Regions from separate parts of the Homo sapiens genome. Here region 1 is linked to region 2. The links are contacts of gene promoters, found by promoter capture Hi-C in human tissues and cell types (Jung and others, 2019). All regions are on one chromosome and are shown on one strand. The core of a region is centred on a gene start or on the middle of the fragment in contact, and the rest is flanking DNA. Distances in the headings are between cores, read along the strand shown. Region 1 overlaps ASXL2 (ASXL transcriptional regulator 2). Region 2 holds the start of MPV17 (mitochondrial inner membrane protein MPV17).

The links. Contacts are between HindIII fragments. The study calls those that stand out against the background at their distance.
Region 1: a fragment that was not itself captured here is called in contact with the fragment with the promoter of MPV17 in region 2 in 1 of the 25 tissues and cell types used here (H1 embryonic stem cells).

The regions. Positions count from the first base shown.
Region 1 is chr2:25,782,906-25,786,966 of GRCh38, forward strand. The region is part of intron 5 of ASXL2 (ASXL transcriptional regulator 2); the gene reads right to left. Among named protein-coding and RNA genes, the nearest start is that of ASXL2, 94 kb to the right of the region's middle. The HindIII fragment of the contact is 8,065 bases long and covers 1-4,061 here.
Region 2 is chr2:27,320,996-27,325,372 of GRCh38, forward strand. MPV17 (mitochondrial inner membrane protein MPV17) reads right to left here and starts at 2,102. Exons shown (of 8, transcript NM_002437.5): 1 at 2,057-2,102; 2 at 1,453-1,527. The coding sequence starts at 1,522. RefSeq lists enhancers at 1,497-1,546, 1,557-1,646, 1,657-1,706, 1,757-1,816, 1,939-2,911 and 3 more. The HindIII fragment of the contact is 20,851 bases long and covers 1,797-4,377 here.

The DNA of each region.
Region 1 (4,061 bases), core at 484-2,983, 1.5 Mb before region 2:
TCACTTGAGGTCAGGAGCTTGAGACCAACCTGGCCAACATGGTGAAACCCCATATCTACTAAAAATACAAAAAATTAGCCGGGCATGGTGGTGCACACCTGTAATCCCAGCCACTCGGCAGGCTGAGGCAGGAGAATCGCTTGAATCCAGGAGGCGGAGGCTGCAGTGAGCCAAGATCGTACCACTGCACTCCAGCCTGGGGGACAGAATGAGACTCTGTCTCAAAATAAATAAATAAATAAAAATTAAAAAATAAAAATATGATTGAATTTCTCTGAACATGTGGGTACAGTGTTCTTTTGAAGGGGAGTTCTAACACAGGTCTACTTCTATGAAACTCTATTTATACTTTCTATCTCTACTGGGTTCAATTTTTGTGTACTGTATTTTCCTAGAAAAGTATCCCATTTCATCTACAAAGTACTGTGAAAAAGTCTGATGGTTTTTTAATTGTTTTGAAATTTCAACCTGAATTTATATACTCATGGTTTTTTCCTTTAAAAAAAAAAAAGGAGGTTAACAAAGTTTGTCTATTATATTGATTCATTTAAAAACCAACCTTTTCTACCATTTTTCTCTTCTAATTTAGTAATTTCCACCATTTTTTTTATTATAAATTATTTTCTTCAGCTATCTATTAGTTTACTTTATTATTCTTTTTTTTCTAATTTTTAGAGTAGTTTGCTTCTTTTAGTTTGTCCTTATTGACAGGAGGTATTCAGTATTATAAACTGCCTTCCAGACTGGACACAGTGGCTCACACCTGTAATCCCAGTACTTTGGGAGGCCAAAGCGGGTGGGATCACTTGAGTTCGAGACCAGCCTGGGCAACGTGGCAAAATCTTGTCTATGTAAAAAAAAAATACATGGCCGGGTGCGGTGGCTCACGACTGTAATGCCAGCACTTTGTGGGGCTGAGGTGGGAGGATCACGAGGTCAAGAGTTCAAGACCAGCCTGGCCAACATGGTGAAACCCCGACTCTACTACAAATACAAAAATTAGTCGGGCGTGGTGGCACATGCCTGTAATCCCAGCTACTTGGGAGGCTGAGGCAGGAAAATTGCTTGAAATCGGAAGGCGGAGGTTGCAGTGAGCTGAGATCACACCACTGCACTCCAGCCTGGGCGAAAGAGTGAAACTCCATCTCTAAATAAATAAATAAATAAATAAATAAATAAATAAATAAATAAATATAAAGTTAGCCAGGTGCGGTGGCGTGCTGTAGTCCCAGCTACTTGGGGGGCTGAGGCAGGAGGATGACCTGAGCCTAAGAAGTTGAGACTGCACTTGAGTTGTGATCACGCCACTGCCTCCAGCCTGGGTGACAGAGTAAGACCCTGTCTCCCAACTAAAAAAAGAAATTAAGAAAGTAGGTGGCACCAAACCCTTGTATATGTAAGCCTCCTTCAGCTTTGGCTGCAAGTCTCACTTAAGGAAGATAATTAAAATGTTAACAGAAAGATTATGGCAGCAGAGATGATGACTATACAATATTTTAAAAGATTTCATGGGAATATAACATACTGAATACATTGTATAATGAAGAATGAACTTTACTCCCTATGTTAATTCCCCAGACCTGTCATTTTAAAAAGTACATAACCTAGGTGGTATAAAACAAGACACTTATTCCTTCACAGTTCTGGAGGCTGAAAATCCAAAACTGATGTGTCAGCAAGGATGGTTCCTTCTGTGAGATAAGCTATTCCGTCCCTTTCTCTTAGTTTCTGGTAACATCCAGCAATCTTTGGCATTCCTTGGGTTATAGCAGCATCACTTCAACCTCGTCTCCATCGTCACACGGCACTCTCTTCATGTCTCCATGTCTTCATATGACCCATCTTATAAAGACACTAGTCTTAGTGGACTAATGACCCACCCTACTACAGTATGACTTCATCTTAACTAATTAACTCTACAACAGCTCTGTTTCCCAATAAGCACACATTCTGGTGTACCAGAGGTTATGATTTCAATATATCTTTTTGAAGGGGACACAATTTGAAGCATAACACTTGTTTTTATTTAGCCTATTTTCCAGAGCTATACAGATGGTGTGAACTTAACACTGTCATTCATTGAATATAAGCTATTATAGTGCTGCCCAGGCTAATAGAATTTTTCCCCAAGTCAAGGAATTATAAGTATTCTCATTTATTCTAACTCATATTCCCATTCATGTAGGTGAATTATAGACTTGTGATCTGTATGTTTTACCATATTTATGATGAATTTAATTAAAAGTAAAATATCCCTAAAAAGGAACATTTCAGCCCAGGTTTCTATCAGGAAATTCTCCCAAACTTATTTATTTATTTGTTTGTTTGTTTATTTTTTGAGACAGAGTCTCGCTCTGTCTCCCTGGCTGGAGGACAGTGGCACAATCTCAGCTCACTGCAACCTGCGCCTCCCAGCTTCAAGTGATTCTCGTGCCTTGCCTCTGGAGTAGCTGGGATTACAGGCACCCGCCTCCATGTCAGGCCGATTTCTTTATTTTTAGTAGAGATGGGGTTTCACCATGGTGGCCAGGCTGGTCTCAAACTCCTGACCTCAAGTGATTGGCCCACCTCCATTTCCCAAAGTGCTGGGATTACAGGAGTGAGTCACTGTGCCCACCCCCCAAACCTTTTAAGGAAGAAAAACAATCTTTATTTTTTCTGAGACAGAGTCTCATTCCGTCCCCTGGCTGGAGTGCAATGATGCAATCTTGGCTCACTGCAACCTCCACCTCCCAGGTTCAAGCAATTCTCCTGCCTCAGCCTCCCAAGTAGCTGGGATTACAGGTGCCCACCACCACGCCTGGCTCACTTTTGTAATTTTAGTAGAGATGGGACTTCACCATGTTGGCCAGGCTGAGTCTCAAATTCATAACCTTAGGTGATCCACCCACCTCAGCCTCCCAAAGTGCTGGGATTATAGGTGTCAGCCACTGCACCTGGCCTACAAAAACAACAATCTTATACAAATTATTTCAGAGAACCAAAAACCAATTACCAACTTTTTTATGATACCAAATTTTAACAGGGACATTATATGGGGAAAACATGCAGGCAAACCTTAGAGTTAAACGCAAACTATGAGCAAATAAAATCTATGATACAGATGATTAATAATATATCACAACCAAGTTGGTTTATCCAAGGAACACAAGGTTGGTTTAACATTTAATACGTAAAATCAATATAATTCACTACAGGAATTATGTACATGAAGGAAAAGCAACTGATAAAATTCAACATCTGTGTATTAGAAAATCTCTTAGCAAATTACAAATAAAAGGAAACTAACTTCATCTACTAAAAAGTATCTACAAACAACCTACTACTCCACATCATTCTTTTTTTTTTTTTTTTGAGATGGAGTCTTGCTCTGTCACCAGGCTGGAGTGCAGTAGTGCAATTTTGGCTCACTGGAACCTCCGCCTCCCAGGTTCAAGTGATTCTCCTGCCTCAGCCTCCCAGGTAGCTGGGACTACAGGCGCATGCCACCACGCCCGGCTAATTTTTGTATTTTTAGTAGAGATGTGGTTTCACCGTGTTAGCCAGGATGGTCTCGATCTCCTGACCTTGTGATACGCCTGTCTTGGCCTCCTGAAGTGCTGGGAATACAGGCGTGAGCCACCACGCCCGGCCCACATCATTCTTAAAACATTATAATATTAAAAGGCTGGGTATTGGTGGCTCACGCCTGTAATCCCAGCACTTTGAGAGGCTAAGGCAGGTGGATCACTTGAGGCCAGGAGTTTGAGACCAGCCTGACCAAAATGGTGAAACCCTATCTCTACTAAAAATACAAAAATGAGCTGGGTGTGGTGGCACACACCTGTAATCGCAGCTACTCAGGAGGCCAAGGCATGAGAATTTGCTTGAACCCTGGAGGTGGAGGTTGCAGTGAGCCGAGATCACACCACTGCACTCCAGCCTAGGTGACAGAGAGAGACCCTGTCTCAAAAACAAACAAACAAAAATTATAATATTAAAAGCTTTACCTTAAAGGTAGAGAATGAAAAGGATAATTGATAGTACCATGTCTGTTCCACTATTTTCTGTAAGTCCTGGCT
Region 2 (4,377 bases), core at 852-3,351:
ACTGAGGCTGTGGAGCTGAAGGGCTCCAGCACCAAGAGCCCAGAACTCCAGCCACATGTCGGCACCTAGGCCTCCTTGGAGCTCTAGCTCCTGCCCTTGTCAGCTGCAGATGCCTCAGGTAGGGAAATATAAGGACTCTTTCCCTCCCTATTCTTGATGACCACAAGGGGGAATCTTCCATCTGGCAGTTATGGGCCCTGAGGGAATCTGAGCCTGGGCAAAGGGCCCAGCGTGTCAGTTCCCATCATAGCCACACTGTCCAGCATGAGTCACCACACACGTAGCCAGGTGAGTCATACAGGCTGACGGACGCTGAGGACAGGACAAGAGGTGGTTGGGCACCGGAGACTGGAGAGGGGCCCAGGGAAGGGCCAAAGAATCCATCTCCTGGCCATTCATGCAGTTAAGTTTCTGTGCCGATGCAGGGCTGTTCTGGTCACAGGATCCCTGTTCCACTCTGGCCTTCAGTAGCCCCCAATCCCTTCCAATAGTCCTCTTCTCAGAAGGCCAGTCATCACTAGAATCCTGTTCCCCTTCTCTAAACATGGGCAAGACCTCATCTTAATGTGATCACTCTTTGCACCCCAATGTTCTAAGGCCTTCTGACATTCCCCCTCTAAGACTTACTTATCTTCATGCCATCCTCTTACATTAGCTAACTTGCAAAATGAAGATGGTAACAAATGCAGGTAGGTCACTGCATTACCTCTGTGAGGTTAGTACTCAATCACTGCATTTGGAGTGACTGGTATCTGATCACTCCAAATGGATCAGGATGGAGTGATCAGATACCAATATACTAACCTTGGAGATACATATTTAGGCAGTAAATGATAACAAAAGCAAATGAACGATATAAACAAAACTCAGGAAATTTTGGGTGAATTACGGAGAGGCACTCAAGAGGTCTCAAAGCTGATTACTGACACAGGAGTGTTCAGTTTTAATGCCATTTAAACTGTACATACACATCTTAATCATTCTTTTGTATGTTTCACAATAAAAAATACCAAGAAAAACTGGGGTAAGAGTCTTGATTCAGCACTTATTAGGTGTGATCTAATGTGGACTCAAGTAACCCTCCTAGCTCACACACCTTTGTGGGGGCCCTATGCCATAACGTATATGAAAGTGCTTTGCATACGGTAAAATGTTTTCCAAGTTGAGGCCTCCTGGGGCAATGCCTTTATCCTTCAGGGCTGACTGTTCAGCTTTTTGAGGACTTTGAAATCCTAAAACCCTACTGCACAGCTTGGCCAACTACGCATACCCCTTAAAAACAGCCTTGGGGACCACCCTCCAAAACAGACTGGGGACAGTGTAGGATGAAAGACAGCCAACCCTTCAAGAGAGCCGAATAGAAACAGGAAGTGAGGGTGGTGCAGTGGGGCAAGCCTCTGGCTTCCAAATCAGTCTGCCCTGGTCCCACTCAAGTCCTAGAGGGACACTCACCAGCTGTCAGGACCTGTACTTTCCACGGGTGAGCGGCCAGGGCCCGCTGGTATGCCCGCCAGAGTGCCATGCTTCCTGTCAAGCCAAGAGGAGAGGGGGTCACCCCCACCGTCCCTCTCCACGACTAAGAAGCCGCCTGACATTCCCTTGTGCCCACTCCCTTCCCCTTCCCACTTCCAATGTGACTTAAAGGGGCAGAGGCCACATGAAGGATGCTTCCCAGACAGCTTCCTGTCGCAGGAGTCGCCTTAGACAATTGGGGAAGAGAGAAAGGCTGTGGGAAGCTATGGACTCCTGGTAGCAGCCACCAGCCACCCCAACCTCATTCCTGAAGCCAGACCACCTGGAAGCCTCCGTTCCCGACGGAGACACTCATGAGGACAGCTTTGCTCTGGCTTCTACCCAGAGCTTGGGTGCCTCAAAAGATAGCTTGGTCCGTCTCCAGATTCAGACTTGGTTGGAACCAGTTTGTAACCTTCCTGAGTCCAGCTCCAAACCGAAAATAGGGCCCGTCACTGCCCGGATATAGGATGACCACACACCTTGTGGGCACTCATGGCTTGCGACGCTTTAAGCCAGAGACCGCAGATCACCCGCCACTCACCTGAGCGCCGAGCCTCCCTCCCACGTGACAGGCTGGCCTAGGAACTTCCGCCACAAGTCCCGCCCCTTCCTCCCAGCGTCCTTCGGATTACGCAGCCAGGACAGGAATGGGGGTGGACCGAGCCATGAATACCCGTGGAGAGCGGCCTAACTCGGCCACCCACTCTGTGAGAGACCCCTTTTCCAGCTGGACTGTGCCGGACCCTGGTGTGGGGCCCGCCAGCCATATTTCTCACCTAAGTTCGACCCTCTGCCTCCTCCTGCCCCTTCTCTCCGCGCGAGACCCGGGCCTCTCTCAATCCGGTAGTCTCATTGTTCAGCCCACCCTCCCCGCATAACTGGCCATAACTACGATCCTTGTCTCAGCAATCGTAGTTAGGGAACTATAAGTTATAGTTAAGTGCGTGTTTTGTCTCTAGGTTCTTCACTGGCCTCAACTGTGAGCTCATGAGTGGGTAAAACTGGGGTCGTTCATATTTGTCGTCCTCATAGCAACTATTTCAGTGCTTTGCCGCAAACAGCCACTTAAGAAATACTGCGTATGTATGATTCTTCCACAGAAAGCATTGGAATTAGAACCTCAGAAGACATTAGGTATTGGCTCCCAAACTAACGGGCTGTGCAGCCTTGGTCATGACTAGACTTGATGTTAAGGCTCTGCATCTGTAAAATGAGGGAGGTTACACTATTGACTTTCCAAACTCGGCTCCTCAGTTCTAGGGATTTTTCAGATGTTTGTGTGTGGGGATGAGAGGGGCAGCATTACTACAGCTGCTTCTCCAACTTTTTTTTCCAAGTATATACTTCTCAAAAGACCCATTTTTAACGGGGCCCACAACTGCATGTTTGAAAACCAGTAAGCTAGGTGATTTCTTAATCCCCTTCCAGCTCTAACATTCTAAGAGTCTGTGAATATAGAGCAATATCCTTTCTAGAGCGTTGGAAATGTCTACAATATCCCTGGCAATGGACTTGTCAGGCTGGCAGGCTTTACTTATCTCCAGGGAGCCCACACGTCAGGAGGCACACTCTTTCAGGCTCTCCACCTGCCCAGCTCCACCCCCAATTTACTCAATTCCTTTATGATTAAGGCAGGGAGACTCCTGCCACAAATCCTGGAGAAACAGAGTAAGGAAGCAAGAGAAGTCAATGTCACAAACATTTAACTAAAATGCTATTTGCAAAACAGCATGCTAGAGGAGTGAACTGACAAAAGTAAATGTAATAGGAGACCAAATGTGGTAGGCTGTAAAGTTATATTCTGAAGTTAGACTGAGTTCAAATCCCCAGCACCACCACTTACTAGTTATATGACCTTGACCTTTTACAGACAGCTTACCCTCTCCAACTCTTTTATCATTAAGTAAAATGGCAATACCTACCTCATACAAGTGACACATGCGAAGTGCCTAAAATGGATCAAGTGCTTAATGCTTGTTTATCCTTTTTCCTCCCTTCCCCCTTGGGAACACAAGGGAGGGAAACTATTTTTTACTGGAGAAAACTGGGAAGCTCTTTGGTGAAGGTGGAATTTGAGCCGGGACCTTGAAGGATGAATTGAACTCAGGTGAAGATGGTGGAAAAAGACACTCTGGCGAAGGGAGGAATATGAGAAGAGGAATAAAGGTAGAGAAGTGTATGAACAATGGATAGTATGAAGTGGGTATATTGGGAGGGAGGGTTAGAAAGAGAAAAGGCTTGTTAGAGAAAAAGAACAAGGTCAAGACTAGGGCTGAGACTCAGTTGCAGAAGCAGGGCTGCCAGCACCAATCTACAGCCTCAAGTGTGGATCCCCAGGTCTCATCTTTTCTACCACTGAAAATAGGAAGGGGGCTGCCCTGTAGAATTGAGTAAAGCTTCTCTTCGACAGAAGGCACTTGCGTAACAGCTCAAAAAACAAAACTGGCTCAATGTGAGCTGGATCCCAATAGGGTAGTGCAACACTTGGCTTCTTTGCACTGACATGGGTTGTGGTCTCTGCTGTTGATAGACTTGGGTTTCCTCCAGGTCTATTTTCTCATCTGTACAGGATAGGGGCTGAACTCTTTTTGAGACGGAGTCTCGCTCCGTCACCCAGGCTGGAGTGCAGTGGCAGGATCTCGGCTCACTGCAACCTCTGCATCCCAGGTTCAAATGATTCTTCTGCCTCAGCCTCCTGAGTAGCTGGGATTGCAGGTGTGTGCCATCACACCTGGCTAATTTTTTACATTTTTGGTAGAGACGGGGTTTCACCATACATTGGCCAGGCTGGTCTTGAACTTCTGACCTCAAGTAATCCGCCTGCCTTGGCCTCCCAAAGTGTTGGGATTACAGGCGTGAGCC